Regions from separate parts of the Homo sapiens genome. Here all the other regions are linked to region 2. The links are contacts of gene promoters, found by promoter capture Hi-C in human tissues and cell types (Jung and others, 2019). All regions are on one chromosome and are shown on one strand. The core of a region is centred on a gene start or on the middle of the fragment in contact, and the rest is flanking DNA. Distances in the headings are between cores, read along the strand shown.

Evidence for each region. Contacts are between HindIII fragments. The study calls those that stand out against the background at their distance.
Region 1: a fragment that was not itself captured here is called in contact with the fragment with the promoter of NCAM2 in region 2 in 1 of the 25 tissues and cell types used here (hippocampus).
Region 3: a contact is called between a fragment that was not itself captured here and the fragment with the promoter of NCAM2 in region 2, in 2 of the 25 tissues and cell types used here (dorsolateral prefrontal cortex and lymphoblastoid cells).
Region 4: a fragment that was not itself captured here is called in contact with the fragment with the promoter of NCAM2 in region 2 in 2 of the 25 tissues and cell types used here (dorsolateral prefrontal cortex and mesendoderm cells).

Annotation. Positions count from the first base shown.
Region 1 is chr21:21,686,231-21,690,178 of GRCh38, reverse strand. No RefSeq gene overlaps it. Among named protein-coding and RNA genes, the nearest start is that of LINC00317, 49 kb to the left of the region's middle. The HindIII fragment of the contact is 3,820 bases long and covers 1-3,250 here.
Region 2 is chr21:20,995,287-20,999,764 of GRCh38, reverse strand. It overlaps NCAM2 (neural cell adhesion molecule 2), which reads right to left and starts at 1,356. Exons shown (of 18, transcript NM_004540.5): 1 at 1,147-1,356. The coding sequence starts at 1,201. The HindIII fragment of the contact is 14,781 bases long and covers 1-4,478 here.
Region 3 is chr21:21,758,485-21,763,009 of GRCh38, reverse strand. All of the region lies in intron 2 of LINC01425 (long intergenic non-protein coding RNA 1425), which reads right to left. Among named protein-coding and RNA genes, the nearest start is that of LINC01425, 14 kb to the right of the region's middle. The HindIII fragment of the contact is 4,503 bases long and covers 95-4,525 here.
Region 4 is chr21:21,649,923-21,654,224 of GRCh38, reverse strand. No RefSeq gene overlaps it. Among named protein-coding and RNA genes, the nearest start is that of LINC00317, 85 kb to the left of the region's middle. The HindIII fragment of the contact is 5,301 bases long and covers 1-4,302 here.

The DNA.
Region 1 (3,948 bases), core at 91-2,590, 690 kb before region 2:
TAATCATTTTTTTTCTAGGAATTGCAACGCTGATTGGAATTCCATAAAATGTTATTAAAATGCTCAAAAATGTAATTAATGACAGTTGAGAATCTCAGTACTAAGCTCTAAAGCTTTGACAGCAAAATATTAAAAATAAGAATAATAATATAAATGTAAAAAACAGAATAAGTACATTACATGATGTCTAAATAATGACATGTAATTAATAAAATAATAATAGTTTGTTGAGCATGTAGTATATGCTGAATATATTTTATTTATAAAGTTTATTTCATCTACAAAAGCTGTACAAGGTTGTGTTCCCATTTTTTTCTTAGGGCCCAAATCAAGTGCGGCAAAATTAAGAGATGAGAGTCAGGCAACTGCAAAGTATCAAGCTCCAGATTCAAAGTCAGGTCTTACTGGTCTCAAAAGTTACATCTTTTTTCAATGAATTGGAGATTTTGTAATCATCTAGATTATAATATCAATGACGTTAACTAGATAAATAACCTGGTTGGTATTTATATCAATTAACCTTTGCTACGTCACAATGTGCCCCGCAATTTCCCTCAAAAAATTAGTAGCACGTAACAAAACAACAAGATTTTCTTTGACTGTTACTTGGCTAGGTGGTTTGTTTGTTTGATCGGGGTTGGGTGGTCTTGGATGTTTTCCCTCCAGGGTCCAGCTGGAACTAAGACACTCAGGCACTTTCTCTGAGTGGTCTCTCATCTTTTAAAATATTATCCCCGACCTGTTCATACAATGACAAAAAAGCATCTCAGAGAGAAGAGTGGGGCAAGTCTCACTGGGTGAGCACTTTTCAAGGCGTGGGTTACTTCATCTCTTCTTCCATGAACCAAAACAAGTCACGTGGCAAATTCTTTCCACAATACAATGCTCTGATAGAAATGGACTCAATTCTATGACTATTAAACCAAATGCTTTAAAAAAAAATCAGTGTTAGCCTTACCAAAACAAACAAAACATTTTTTGAATGAACAGAAACTTCCACATATGTGGTAAGTTTTCATACTTAATTAAAACAGAAGCTTTGCTCCTCCCTACCACTCCCTGCCACACCTGCTCCGCTGCAGTCTTCTATGCATCCAGCTGATGGCGACGCGGCCCTTCCAATTCGTTTGGCCCAAACAAGCCTCTTTCTTGACTCTTCTTTTTCCTTTTTCACATATCTCTTTTCTTTTCCAATCCACCAGGAAATTCTGCGGCATTTACATTGCAAATATGCAGAAAATGGCCACTGCTCACCACCTCCATTACTAACATGTTGGTCCTCGACGCTGTCATCTCGTTTGTATTTCTGCAATGGCCTCCTAATTAATTTCCCTAAGTCCACTCTTACAAACCTACACTTAACCCGGTAGTTAGAGTGACTCTGTCAGATCATGTCAAAACCTAATACTGGCTCCATATTTCAGTCAGAGTATAAGCAAATTCCTCACAGTAGCCCACAGTTTCCTACATATATCTGCACACTCTACCATCCTCTTTCCCTCAGTACCTTTTCCTTGAATATCTCATTTCAGGCTTACCAACATCTCAGAGGTTTCGCAAACAGGGAAGGCACACTTCTGCTTTATGAACTTGCAAATATCCTCACAAATCAGTGTTTTTCCTCCTTTTATTTGTTGCTCAAATGACATCTTCCCAATGAGGCCTGTATTGATTCTGATCAATATCTTTATAATTATAAACCATGATACACATCCTTGACTCCCCAAACCTCTATTTCATCTAATGTTTCTATTTTTCATAATATTTATCACATATAAACACATCATATAATTTACTTATTTTGTGTTTGTTGTTCTACAAGAGAAGGAAAGAAACTTTTGTTGTGTTTAGTGGTTTATTTCAAGTACCTAAAAGGTGCTCAAGAAATTTTGAATGAATGAACGATCATAATAATACAGAGGATTAAGATATTTTGATATTTTAGCAGAAAATAACCATATTTGACTATTTAAATTGACCAAAATAACACTGAACAGCAACAAAAATTTACATATATATATGATATACATATTCTCAAGTAAAGGTTCAGTATAGTAAACCAAGCTCTCTCATTTGTGCTCATAAACTTTAATCCTGCCTTTATAGGAAATAATTGAGCATAATCAATATCTCTGATGAGCAATCCATGAGGAATATCATACTTATTTTTTTCTGAAATCCCTGCCATCATTAATATGGAGTCAGATGAAGTGAAGTTACAACTAAGTGTAATGATAAAGCATTTAATATTCCTAGACAAAAAATGAACTTGAACTAATTTTATTGTTCATAACTTTCATTTCCTAACCATTTGTAAGTGACACTTACCAGCACATTACTTGGTAATGACCCTTTACAATTAAAAACAAACACTTTAATTAGCATATTTAAACTTTTTTTCCAAAATATTAATTGCCTAATAATTATGTGGTAGATTTTGACTCCAAGGTACAGAAGGGATTACTACATTCATATTAATTCTATGATTAGTGGTTTGTTGAATATTTTTATAATAATGATCTTGAATTATTTTTAGGGAAATAAGGAATTAAAAATTATCCCTGAACTATTTATAATAAAAATGTTTTATTGAATGCATTAAATCATTTATGTTTTAAAAACTCTACATTTATCCACTCATTCATTTATTTTATTTTTTATATTAAATGTGTAGATAACATACATTCATTTTATGTTCACTTAGCATTTGCCTGGGAAGCCTCAGAATAAAAAGGAGTTATTAAGCAAACTGCTACAATCATGTATGCATTTGGGTTAAAAAATGTGTTACAATGATGCTATCATAAAGAGAAAAATAAGTAGTTGTAGTCTTTTACCAATATGCTATGTAGAACCAAATAACACTGAAAATGGAGAATTTATCTGCATCTTCATTATCTTTCTCTTACACATCCCATTTCTTGTATCTCAACCTAGAATATGACTATTTTCTAGTTATACTCTATGTAGATTAAACATGCTAGCTAAGTTACTACTTCAGACTCTTTTCTCTGGTCTGTTTAAGGAGCCATCTCTAGCAGCATTCTTCTATTCTCTCCTACCCCTCACCAGATACAGACGGTGATCTTAAAACATAGATCCAAATTCATGTGTATATCAAAACATCATTGTGTACACCTTAAATATATGGAATAAAAATAAATTTAAAGATAACATTTTTAAAAAGAAATCTTTATATTTTCAAGTTATTCCCAGACATTGGAGTCTGTCTGTAAACAAACCATTCCCTCTTTGCCAAATCCTAATTATTGATGCAGAGAATGGACAATCATAATGTAATGGTGACTATTTCAAGCCATTAAGTTCCAGGTAGTTTGTTATACCACACTGAATAACTGGAACACCAGGTATGCACCTTAATGACTGATGAGAGTGATTGTGTGACTGAATAATTGATTGTAACCTCTGTTCTATAATCATGATGCATTTAACGAGAAATTCAAAATTTTGGACAGAGCTTTGTTAGATACTTCATCATGAAAAGAGAAACAGATACCGGTCGTCTGTCAAGGCACAAACCTACAAAATCTGTAGATTTCCTTAACCATTTCACTGATCATGGTCACCAAAGCTGATCACAAGCAGCACTTTCTAGATCAGTTTATCAGAGAAAACAATAATGCTTTGATCAATGATATAGTTCCGTTGTGCTTCCACCCACATTTCATCTTGAATTGCAGTTCCCATAATTCCCTTGTGTGGTGGGAGGGACCCAGTGGGAGATAACTGGATCATGGGACTGTTTCTCACATACTGTTCTTGTGGTAGTGAATAAGTCTCATGAGGTCTGAAGGTTTTATAAGGGGTTTCTCCTTTCACTTGGCTCTCATTCTCTCTTGCCTGTTGCCATGTAAGATGTGCCTTTTGCCTTCGATCATGATTGTGAGGCTTCCCCAGCCACATGGAACTGTGAGTCCGTTAAACTTC
Region 2 (4,478 bases), core at 107-2,606:
TGCTGGACCAAACGAGCAATACAGAAGAGGCTAAAAATGCTTAGAACTGAATATCTTGGGGATATTTTAACTTGTCTTGTAATTTATTATATTATTTTAAAAAACCAATTTCACACTACACTAACAACATAACATTCTTTGCAATCATTACATATCTCAAAATTAGTGCTATTTTATTTTTCCTTTAAAGACTTTCACCAATGCATGTTTTAGCATTTTGTGTCCCTAATTAAACGTCCAAACTTGTCTGGACAGTTGAAAATGCTTCCATTTATTGTAAATATATTTCATGTGAGTGTTTACTATCTAAACAGCCAGATAAATTCATATCTATCTCTCTAGAGACAAACAGTGATAGCTTCCACAAATTCCCTCTCAGGTTATTCTACCAGGCTATTCATTTTTTTTTTTTAAGAGATAAAAGCTTCCACCAGTTCTCCCACAACCCCAAAAATCCTCTACAGGTGTAATTACAATGTAATGTTATAAAATGATTCCACCTTTCTGTATTAATAAGGGGTTGGGGTCAAAATGAATGACTGCAACACATCCCTAGTTTTATCCATTTGCTTTCTTACACACAATATCCACGGCCCCTCTCTTAGTTTCCAACAGAAATAAGCCATCATCATTCACTTCATAGTCAGGAATTAGGGTTTTGGGAAAGGGGTGGAAAAAAAAAAGAGTCTCCAAGAATCGAACGTCTTGCACACAGCAGATATTTTGCAAATGAGTTTAACACTGATAGTTTTTGCTGCTTCTGTAAAACACCATCGTGCCCTTTCCTTCCGCAACCTCAGATATTTCACTGTTAACACACTCATCCAATTTCTGATAATAAAAATAAGAGAAAGCCATAATCCCAGAGGAAAAAAAAAGAAGAAGAAGAAGCGGTTTCCCTGGATATCCTGCTCACCGATTCCCCTCTCCAATTCTGTATTTTCCCTTCTCTTATTTAAGGGTCTCCACACAACAGATACAATTTTAGGGACAGCTAGGAGAAAGAACGAAAATAATAATAACAACAACAGCAATAACTGTAACTTTAGTTCTTTCATTTCATTCTTCCTGCGCCTCCCTCTTTGCCTCTCTTGGCCGGGTGGAAGGGGGAGGGAAAGTAAATGCAATAAAGCGCCACACTCCTACCTTGCCCGCTACTGACAAGCAACCCCAGCAGGTAGAAGGAGAGGAGGAGGCTCATGTTCAGGACGTGACACCGGTGGACAGTTTCAAAGTTATTAAGTCCAGCCCTGGAGAGAGAACCTTTCGCTGCCCCGGCCGCCTCTGCTAGAGCCGCCGCCGCCGCTCCCGCGGTGCCCCAGCCGCCCGCAGCCCGCGCGCTCCTCCTCGCAAAGTGACTGCAAGCTCCGCTCTTGCCGCACTATATCCAGGCAGCGGCGGCGGCAGCGGCGGCAGAAGCAGCAGCAGCAGCGGCCGCCGCGGCGGCAGCAGAGCCGGGCGGGGAGGGCGGCGGGGGCGGGGGCGCGGCGAGGGGAGGTGCGGCCGAGGCGTATCCCTCCGCGCTGCACGGCGGCCGCTCTTCCGCGAGGCGCGCGGTCCCGGGATTCGTCCGCAGTGGAGCTCGAAGTCACGGGTTCGGTCCCCGGTGCCTCCGCCTAGAGGGGCGGCCGCGATCGCGAAGGCGCCACTCGCCCGCCGGCCATCCGCAGGTTCATGCACGCCCTGAGCCGAGAAGGGCGTGGGGATGGGGGCAGCCTGGAGCTCCTTCACAGCCGCCGGCTGCCTCAGGACAGCTGAGCTGATGCTGAGCTGAGCTGAGCTGAGCTGATGCTCATGCAGATGCTGATGCTGATGCTGATGCTGATACTGATACTGCAGGCGACCGCCCCGAGCGCGCCCCGGCTCAACGTGAATGGGGGATCTGGAGGCGGGCGGTGTGCCCCGCAGCTTATTCCTTTTGGGCGTGGGAGGAGGGAGATTCTTGTCTCTCCGTGGACCTCCTTCTCCCTCTCTCGCTCAAACCTGGAGCAGGCTGGCCCCTTGCGCGGCTGTCCCCTTCCCACGCTCCCCACCCCGCCGCGACAGAGGGGAAGCAATTGTACCCTAAAGTCTACACTGTCTGTCTCCTCAGGCGCTAAAGGGTGGGCGGAAAAATAACGTACAGAGTGTTTCCTCTACATCTCGACCCATTGCTGTTGGGAGCGGCACCTTACGGGAGAGACACTGGAGAGGGGACGAGCCGCGGGAGGGGCTGCGTTCAACTCAGCCTTAGCCTCAGCTGTGTCCTTAGAGGCCTGAAGTCTCTCCTGGCCTCACTCCGCGGGCTCTGCCCTCGGTCCCAGTGCGCTGCACTGGCCAGATCCCCGCCAGGAGTGCACCGAGGGAGGACTGCAAATGTGCAAAGATGAGTTGGGTCGCGGGGGGGAGACCTTCCCCAGATCAGTGCCCTACCCCGAACACCCACGTACCCGCGTGTGCGAGTGTAAATTGAAGTGAGGGAGCCGTGGCAAACGCCCGGAACTAACTCTCTGCTCCTTAAGATTGGGGCTTATCGTTATTTCTCCTAGAAGGGTAGGAAAACGTTTGTGAGATTAACGTCACCTCTCCTGCAAGAGCGGTTAAGAGGCAGAATCACCGGCCCGGGTGCGGAGCCCATGTCAATCTGGCCTGGGGTTACCGCGACCTGCAAACGCTGACGATGGGTCCTTTCATCTGCACTTTCTCTCTGGCTCCTTAGAAAACTCAACTGCCTCGCCCCGGCCTCCACAAGGACCCTAGCTCCTTCCTTATCAGTGAGGACATAGAAATAGCGGGGGTTGGAGAGGGGGGAGGTAGAAATGTAGAGCTCAGAATCCAGCCCCAGCCTGGGGATTTCACGCTGAAAAGGGCAGTGCATTGCCTTCAGGGAGGGCAGGGGGCAAGAGTAGACACAGGCTAACATGCATAGGGGAGATACCGTCTGCGATTTGTCCTCCCCAGGCAGAGCGCTTTATACAGATGATTCGTCCACTTGGCATCCTGGGATGGGGTTATCAGGAAGAGAGGAGGGGAAAGGCGGCCCTCAACTCACCATCGCTGAACTGCCTTAAGCAATGGCCCTCTCAGCACCTCACAGCTAGAGAACCTCTTATTTCCTCTTGATCTTATAGCAGACAATATATTTAGAAAGTTATTTTGCCACGGTACCCTTCTCACACCCTTTACTGGTTCTGGAATGCACTAACCACACTTAAGTAAACTCATGGTCAGCTCTTTGCAGGAAAGGGTGGAAGTAGCACATTTATAGATGTGAAAGACCGTGACTCATTTATTTACTCCAATTCTTCATTTCTCTTGGGCATTGATAAATGCTACACAGTAGGCCTTCTGCGTCCACAGTTCTACATCCTCAGATTCTACCAACCATGGATGAAAAATAACTTTAAAAAAAATGAAACAATGATACAATCAAAATAACGTAAATAAAAAAATACAGCAAAGTGACTATTTACAAAGCATTTGCATTATATAATGTATTACACCTAATCCAGAGATGATGTAATATGCAGGAGGTTATATGCAAATTTATGCTATTTTATATAAGGGACTTGAGCATCCAAGGATCTGTGAGAGTATTGAAACTAGTCCCCCCTGTGGATACCAAAGAATGACTTCAGCACACACACACACACACACACACACACACACACACACACACAAAATCACAGAAGACAGTTAAAAGTATACTCTGTGTGTCAAATAGCATCTTCACACAGCCTGCAATTTTTCAACCTGACACTGGGAGTGGCCAAGTGCCTATCACACACACATACATGCACATCTGTTAATCAGGTGGAAATATTGACAACTGAATTCTCCTCTGTGTTATTAGAAGTCAAATTACTTTCAGGCTGGGCGTGGCTCATACCTGTAATCCCAGCACTTTGGGAGGCTGAGGTGGGCGGATCACAAGGTCAGGAGTTCAAGACCAGCCTGGCCAATATGGTGAAACCCCGTCTCTACTAATAATACAAAAATTAGCCAGGGGTGGTGGCACACCTCTAGTCCCAGCTACTCAGGAGACTGAGGCAGAAGAATCGCTTGAACCCAGGAGGTGGAGGCTGCAGTGAGCTGAAATTGTGCCACTGCACTTCAGCTTGAGTGACAGAGCAAGACTCTGTCTCAAAAAAAAAAAAAAAAAAGTCAAATTACTTTTTTCTTAGGCAATGGGTTAAACCATGCCAGAGGAAAATTTGACTGGTATCCTGTAAGGTAATTTAGACATTAAATGTTCTTAGAGTGAGGTTAGGGAGATGGTAGCAATAGTCTATCAGACACAAATGAAATTTCTGATTAGAAGTTTGTATCATAAGACTATACTGTGTCCAAACTTCTGTGTGTGTGAGAGAGAGACAGAGAGAGAGAGAGAGAGAGACAGAGGGAAGATAAGAGAGAGAGAGAGAGCATCTCTGTGTATGGAAAAGATAAATGGACAAACCCTTGGTACTCAGGAATATACAAAGAAAGGTGATACAGCT
Region 3 (4,525 bases), core at 1,097-3,596, 760 kb before region 2:
GATGTATCCTTGACTTGGAATGTAATCATACTTGATATTCTTCAGAGTGTTGTAACTGAGAAAGAAAAAGCAAGGATGTGCCCAAGGTTTTGGTCTGAGAAATTAAGTAAGAAGAAGAATGTGACTGGGTGTAACATGGGCAAAGCTGAATTTATTATTGCTCAACCCCTCCCAGTCTGGCCCTTTGCTCTATTACCTGGCAAGTCATTCATTTGAAGTTTTTCAGACTCTATTACCTTCACTCTTCACATTTAATTAATAGTCAGATCCACTTGATTATAAGTTTTAATATTTTTGTGTCAGATCTCTACCAGGCATCTATTAACTGGGTTAGGGATAGGGTTAGGGTTCGGGTTCGGGTTCGGTTAGAGTATGTATGATATATATACTTGGTGATGATATTTCATCACTGTCTCTAGAAATATTCCTAAAATGCAAATCCAACTATCTCTTGCTCTGCAGAAAGTCCTTTATGATTTTGTATTACCTTCAAAATCAAATCTAACCTTAGTAGAAAGGGGATAGATAGATAGATAGATAGATAGATAGATAGATAGATAGATAACCTCCATCATAAGGTTTCTGCTTCTACCACCAATGTCATCTTTTACTGTGTCCTATTTAGGACTTCCAGCTTTAGCTATTCTTAAATAATTGCAACCTCCAAAAATAAATGTTTCATAATCTATTCCTTTTTCCCCCCTTGAATGTCTCCTTCCACCATTGGACAACTGTTAACATTTAAAGACTCATTTCAAGGGTATTATTCTAGTAAATTCCATTTATAAAAAATTTTTTAAAAGATCACAGAAAGCACAATATATTAGTCGCTGATTGTATGATTCATTGCTGTGTGCTAAAAGAAAATCAGAAAACTTACTGACCTGAAAGAACAACAATTATTTTGTTTCTGTATCTATTCCTCGGGCAGGGCTTATGAAGGGTTTAGTAGGGAGCTTGCCTTTGATTCAAGAGGTCAGTTTAAAGCAATTGATCTCAGAACTGGAGAACATACTACCAAAATGGTTGACTCACATAGGTGGTGATTTGGTACTAGCTATCAGTTGGGATCTCAGCTATACTGTCAGTCAAAATTCATGCATACATCCTTTCCACGGAGTCTCACTGCTTTGCCTGTTTGAACATTCTCACAGCGTGGTGGCTCTTTTTCTACAGCAAACATCTCAAAAGATCACAGTGGATGATGATGGCATTTTTATGTAATATATTGAAGCAGTCACAAAAAGCCAGTGAGTTTCAAAGGGAGAGGGCAAAGACCCTATCACAGGATGCACTGTAGAAAGAACTTATGGAATGGAGATACTGTTGTGATCTTCACTGAAAAATGCAATACACCACAAAAATTTTGATTACATACCCCACACTCCAAAGTATATCACCCCACCCTTATAAATTCTGGCTCCCATTCTAAAGCAATCAATCGCTTGTTAGACAGAATGGATTTGACTGACTACTTAATCACACGGCAAATAATAACTTTCTCATTTGTTTCCTCATTTATGGCTGATATGAAATGGCATGGTGGGAAGAGGCTCAGCTTATTCCTGGTATAAATCACATACAGTGTAATGACCATCAGGCATGAAATATTTCAGCATTTTACCTTTATACAAAGAAAACTCATATTCTACGTTATTAAAAACTATTCCCATCCCTGTTTACTCAAATAACTATACCTGTTAAGATTCTCTTGCTTAGCAGAGTCCCAGTCAACTAACTCCAACTTACTTATAACAGTCCTCAACATATGTAATGTAACTCAGACACTAAAAGGGAGTAATGTGCTCTTCCAACTTCAGGGAAACATGATTGATAGTAGCTTCTCTATTCTAATACAACTAATCATCTTCCAGAAACGTCTATACTATACTATAGTTACATAGCCTGAATTCAAATTTTTATGAAACAAGAGGTGCTTAGGTATTATCCTCTTTCAAAGCCCATTCTGTAGACTGTAAGTACCCGTGAATTGAATTGAATGCTTTGGTGTGATCATGGAGGGGAAGTCTAGTTCATGTAGTATAAAGCTTAATCACTAAGGCAGATGGAGCAATAGCTGTGAAGTGGTGGGATGAAGCATGAATAGGCAGACTTTGCTACAGTGCATATGGAGGGCAGGAATAAAGGTTAACATACCCAGAATAACATAACAAAACTTGCATTTTCAATATCTGGTTTCTTATTACATTGCACCTCTTTTCCTTCAAGGTGCATGTGTGATTCATACTCTAAGCACTATGGGTAATACAAGGTAATCCTCCACTAATGCCATATGCCCTAATAAATGACAGCATAAAGAAACCAATTGGTTATATTATTTATTATGGTCTTTATGGCACTGGGAGATTATTGTAAACAGGGTTCATGTCAGGTCTTATATACAATAACATGAAACCACACTATATATGAGGAAAAGTCAGACAATTTCCAAACACTGAGTCAGGCACTTTCTACACAATGAATAATAAATGATACGTGCAGCAATTTGCTTTAGTATTTAGTTAACCAATTATTTAAATCTATCATATTCAATATATTATCAGGAGATATACGTGCTCTAACCTACTGTAGGATAGTATTTCAAGATTAGTACCTAATCAAGAACCAGACATGATACCTCTTACTTAGTGCATACTTCTGAATGGAGGACATGAATTCTCCCATATCGAGAAAGCACTAAGACACTAAAGTAGAAACTCAAAATATGAGTGACAAGTTTTGCAAATATTCTGTTTGATTCAGGTACATACTCCACTTTAAAGACATTAAGCAAATTAGAGGATTGTTTTAGTTCATATATGAAGATGGGCACAGAAGAGTAAGAGAAACAGGATGGGAGAAGCTTACCAAGACACAGTGATCTGGATAAGTTAGGAGCATTAATTTTGTGTAGCCAGGTACCGAGAGAGTACATACATAACAGCAAAAATACAAAGCCATAACAACAAATAACTTCCTGACAAAATCATGCACAAATCAGCACGTATTTTTTTAATTAAATAGGCTTCCCTAAGTGGAACAAAACAGAGCCATTGGATAAATATCATAACAACAGAGAAATGATCCACATTTTCATGTTTCATATAAATATTGGAATTCTGTCCCAAATCAGGATTTACACAATTGGGTGATGGATGTGAGACGGAAATCCTGACTCACAGCATAATAATTGTAAATACAGCATAAAAGATGCATTTCTACAGGAGAACATGAACAGCTTTAGCTTGTTGGTTATAGTTTTGCAGATCTAATAGTTAACAAGACAGCATTTCTACTGATGCATAGGTTCCACTGACAAGCTCCAGGATCATCTCATTCTAGTCATAATCATTGTCTGTCTTGAAGCCTGGTAGGGCATTGGTCATCTTCTTCTGTGGACATTTTCTCACTATGAAGTGACACATTATGTTATAGGGAATATAGCACATGTACCCTTGGCTGCCAGGTATGCATATGAGTGTGGCCATTCTACCAAAATTTTCTTTTCTGCAAAGCCTTGCAGAGGTGGAAATACTTGCCCTCCTACAGAGAGCTTGAGATTGAGCCATTAAACTTAATGTAGCAAAAAAGCAATGTTTGAGATCATTATATAGCTTGTTTTGGATTTACATATTCTTAATGCAAATTTGTGATAGTCAAAATTTCAACATAGAAATATCTATTCACCATAACAGTAAAGTTCCCATTTCAGTGCTTTCAGATATTGAAAAATATATATTTAAAGTTATGCACACATTCACATATACATGAATACATATATATGTAAAATCAAGCCAAGCAACCAAGCTGTACATATATTAAGGAAAATATCTAGTTCGAAATAAAATAATGTAAATATGACTATGAAAGGAAAAGAGTTATCTGTGTTGTTTGCTGTTGGAATTCCCCCGGATTACTAATCCTTGTTAAGTTTAAGTTTCTTTTTAATAAAATGTTGTATAATCTCATTTTTTTTTCCTAGCAGTTTGATGAATGTATTGTTTGGGACATTTAAAAAAAATATTTCTCAATTAATGCATTCTAGAAAAAACTGTTAGATATTGATCCAGAATACTTCAAGAATGGAGGTTCCAAAATATTTCAACATAACCAACATGACCTGTTTTTATGTTTCACTGTGGCAGACCTCCCCAAGAGGATCCCGAGTAATTCCCTCCTCATGGTATATCACACCTCTGTGTGTTCTCCCTGCCACCCCTGTCCCTTGGCTGGAGGTGGCAACTGTGACTTGTTTCTAACCATTAGCATATGGCAAACATGGCAACAGTAATGGCGTGTCATGCCTATGGTTTGCTTACATAATATGGCAAAGTTGATGGAACGCCTATGCCATGGTTCCCGTGGTTACATTATGTAAGACTTCATTCTAGCAGACTGAACGTGAAAATTCACCTTTGCTGGATTTGAAAGTATGCTTCCATTTGTGAGAGGATCTATAAAGTGGCTAATGTGGCAAATAAAAAAAATAAAAACTTCAGGCACTTAAAGGAGACAAGAGAGGCCT
Region 4 (4,302 bases), core at 657-3,156, 650 kb before region 2:
AAGTTGTGGGTAAAACCTGCTTATTACTAATTATTCAACAATTCACAGAAAAATGGAAAATTCAGTTGTTCAAATTATCACCAATATGGGTGTTTTCTTTATAATGTGATAAGATTATTTGAATTTTATGACACATATGCCATGAATTTAAGATAAGTATAATATGGTTGCTTTAAGTTTTTCTTTTTCAATTACAATAATAATAATACAAACCTCCTTAGATCTATACACTTGAGATATTTAAAACACAATGTGTATGCAAAACATCATAACCTGGTTCCTCAAATCAACAAGGGACTATGAGTTTTATTTGTATGAGAGGTCTTGGACCTGTGGTATTTTGTTTACTACTTATCACTTTTGATGGCCACCCATTTGAATAGAGATCTAATCTGGCTCTGGGGGCAGGGAAGATCTTGGGACAGGAAAACTACCCCTTTCTTTAGGAGATGGCCCATTGATCTTTGCTTTTATCAGCTCCTGCAACTATCATTTGAAGGTAAAGATCAAGTTATTTACAAATTGCTTTAGATTGAAAGGCATTAGACTAGGCAAGGTGAAAATTAAGAGCTTGTGAATACATTGTAGGTGGAAATAATTTTTGGAAACGATTTCCCAGTATATATAATACACAATTTCTAAAATGAACAAAAGTTTGAAATAAGTTTTAAATAAGATGTTGAAAAGATGTAAGCGTAGCTGCTTTAATCTTAATCAATGCAACTTGTGATGAGGTAATGAAGAGCAGGCAATCAGTCAGAACCCAATCTACCCAAATGAAATCTCAAACAACAGAGGATATTTTTTACTTTAGTTTGTGTTAAGAGAGATGGGCAATGTAAGTGCTATGCAGATTTAATGTGCTAATGAAATAAATTCATCAAGATTTAAATTATGGAGGAAATTAAAATAAGAAACTGTTCTGTACACAAAAGAGACTATGTCCCAAGAGAATATCCAGCCTTGGTAAAGAACAACCCTAATGAATTTTAGAATAGATTTACAAAATATTATATATCACCTGTTTTTAAAGACTTTTTATTCTTTAGTTTCCTTAGTCAGTCCCTAGAATTTTTATTTAGGAAAGACCCTAGAAATAGAAATCTGAAATGCTCAGCCAACAAAAGCTTTGTGAAGTTGTTTGCCCAGCCAATGTATTGTTGGTGGTTAGATCATTAGTCTACTACTTCGATTTTGGGTGCTCAGTGAAGTACCTGGAGGCATTCAAGGGTGTGAGCACAGATAATTTAAGGGAATTAATTTCTAATTTAAATAATTTCATCTTTTATGTTAAATATTTCCTAAGGCCATTTGATGGAGCTTCAAGTTCTAATTTTCTTTTTTTTTTCTTTTGAGATGGAGTGTTGCTCTGTCGCCCAGGCTGGAGTGCAGTGGCATGATCTCGGCTCACTGCAAGCTCCGCCTCCCAGGTTCATGCCATTCTCCTGCCTCAGCCTCTCAAGTAGCTGGGACTACAGGCACCCGCCACCACGCCTGGCTAATTTTTTTTGTATTTTTTAGTAAAGACGGGGTTTCACCATGTTAGCCAGGATGGTCTCGATCTCCTGATCTCGTGATCTGCCCTTCCTCAGCCTCCCAAAGTGCTGGGATCACAGGCGTGAGCCACCATGCCCAGCCCAAGTTCTAATTTTCTGCCATGTTATAATAAACCTCTCCCAATTTTTCAAAGTAAAATATCTGTTGCCCAGCACTAAACTAGCAGGGTGATTGCCCCAGAAAATTACAAAGATCCTAGGCATCACTACTGAGACCAATCAAAATGTTTTTATAATGATTTTGAAAAAATAAAGAATTTTAATGACAGGATAAAAAATAAATACATTTGAAAATCAAATGATTCCAACTATCAGTTTTCAACAAAACTAAAGAATTTACCTACTTGGATTGTTTGTTGATAGGCCACTTAAAAATAATATTTGCTGAAGAATTAGAATGAGACATTTACAAACACCTGAAAAGAGTTGAAAGAATTCAATGTCATTGCTAGAATAGCACACTTATCCTCATCTATTTGTTTATGTGGACAAGTTATTTCAATACCTACATCTATAAAGATGAGTGTATTAGTTCATTTTCATATTGCTGTTACAGACATGCCCGAGACTGGACAATTTACAAAAGAAAGAAGTTTATCAGACTTACAGTTCTATGTGGCTGAGGAAACCTCACAAACATGGCGGAAGTTGAAAGGCACATCTCACATGGTGGTAGACAAGAGAAGAGAACTTGTGTAGGGAAACTCTGATTTTTAAAACCATCAGATCTGGCGAGACTCATTCACTATCAAGAGAACAGTGCAGGAAAGACCCGCCCCCATAATTCAATCACCTCTCACCAGGTTCCTCCCATGACATGTGGGAAGTACAATTCAAGATGAGATTTGCTTGGGGGCACAGCCAAACCATATTATTCCACCACTGGCCTCTTCTAAATCTCATGTCCTCATATTTCAAAAACCAATCATGCCTTCCCAATAGTCCTCCATAGTCTTAACTCATTTCAGCATTAACTCAAAAGTCTACAGTACAAGGTCTCTTCTGAGACAAGTCAAGTCCCTTCTGCCTATAAGCATGTAAAATCAAAAGCAAGTTAGTTACATCCTAGATACAATGTGGGTACAGGCACTGGGTAAATACAGCCATTCCAAATGGGAGAAATTGGCCAAAACAAAGGGGCTACAACCCCATGTAAGTCTGAAATCCAGCAGAGCAGTCAAATCTTGAAGCTCCAAAATGATATTTTGACTCAATGTCTTACATCTCAGTCATGCTGATGCAAAAGATTGCTTCCTGTGGTCTTAGGCAGCCTCGCTCCTGGCTGTTTCCATGGGCTTGTGTTGAGTGTCTGTGGCTTTTCCAGGCTCACAGTGCAAGCTGTCAGTGAATCTACAATTCTGGGTTCTGTAGAATGATGTCCCTCTTCTCACAGCTCCACTAGGTAGTGCCCCAGTAGGGACTCTCTGTGGGGACTCCAAACCCACATTTCCCTTCCATGCTGCCCTAGCAGAGGTTGTATATGAGAGCCCTGCCCCTGAAGCAAACTTCTGCCTGGGCATCCACTCGTTTCCATACATCCTCTGAAATGTAGGCGGAGGTTCCCAAACCCCAATTCGTCACTTCTGTGTACCAGCAGGGTCAACACCATATAGAAGCTGCCAAGGCTTGGGGCTTGAATCCTCTGAAACCATAGCCCAAGCTCTAGGTGTACCCCTTTCAGCCATGGCTGGAGTAGCTGGGATGTAGGGCACCAAGTCCTGCGCATAGCACTGGGACCCTGGGCCCGACCCACATAACCACTTTTTCCTCCTAGACCTCCAGGCCTGTGATGGGAGGGGCTTGTGAAGAGCTTTGAAATGCTTTGGAGACATTTTCCCTGTTGTCTTTGGGATTAACATTTGGCTCCTAGTTACTTAGGCAAATTTCTGCAGCTGGCTTGAATTTCTCCTTAGGAAATGGGATTTTCTTTTCTAACGCATTGTCTGGCTGCATATTTTCTAAACTTTTATGCTGTGCTTCCCTTTTAAAACTGAATAGCTTCAACAGCACCCAAGTCACCTCTTGAGTGCTTTACTGCTTGGAAATTTATTCCACCAGAAACCCTAAATCATCTCTCTCAAGTTCAAAGTTCCACAAATCTCTAGGGCAGAGGCAAAATGCTGCCAGTCTATTTGCTACAACATAACAAGAGTCACCTTTGCTCCAGTTCCTAAAAAGTTCCTCATTTTTATCTGTGACCACCTCAGCCTAGACTTTATTGCCCATATTTCTATTAGCATATTGGTCAAAGGCATTCAACCAGTCTCTAGGAGGTTCCAAACTTTCCAACATTTTCCTGTCTTCTTCTGAGCCCTCCAAACTGTTCCAACCTCTGCTTGTTACCCAGTTCCAAAGTGGCTTCCACAATTTCAGGTATCGTTTCATCAGTGCCCCACCCTACTGGTACCAATTTACTGTATTAGTCCATTTTCATGCCACTGATAAAGACACACTTGAAACTGTGCAATTTAAAAATAAAGAGGTTTACTGGACTTACAGTTCCACATGGCTAGGGAGACATCACAATTATGACAGAAGGTAAAAGGTCCATCTGACATGGTGGCAGACAAGAGAAGAGAGCTTGTATAGGGAAATTCCCATTTTTAAAACCATCAGATCTCGTGAGACTCATTCATTATCATGAGAACAGTGCAGGAAAGACCTGCCCCATAATTCAACCACCTCCTACTGGGTTCCTCCCATGACACATGAGAATTGTGGGAGTTACAATTCAAGATTAGATTTG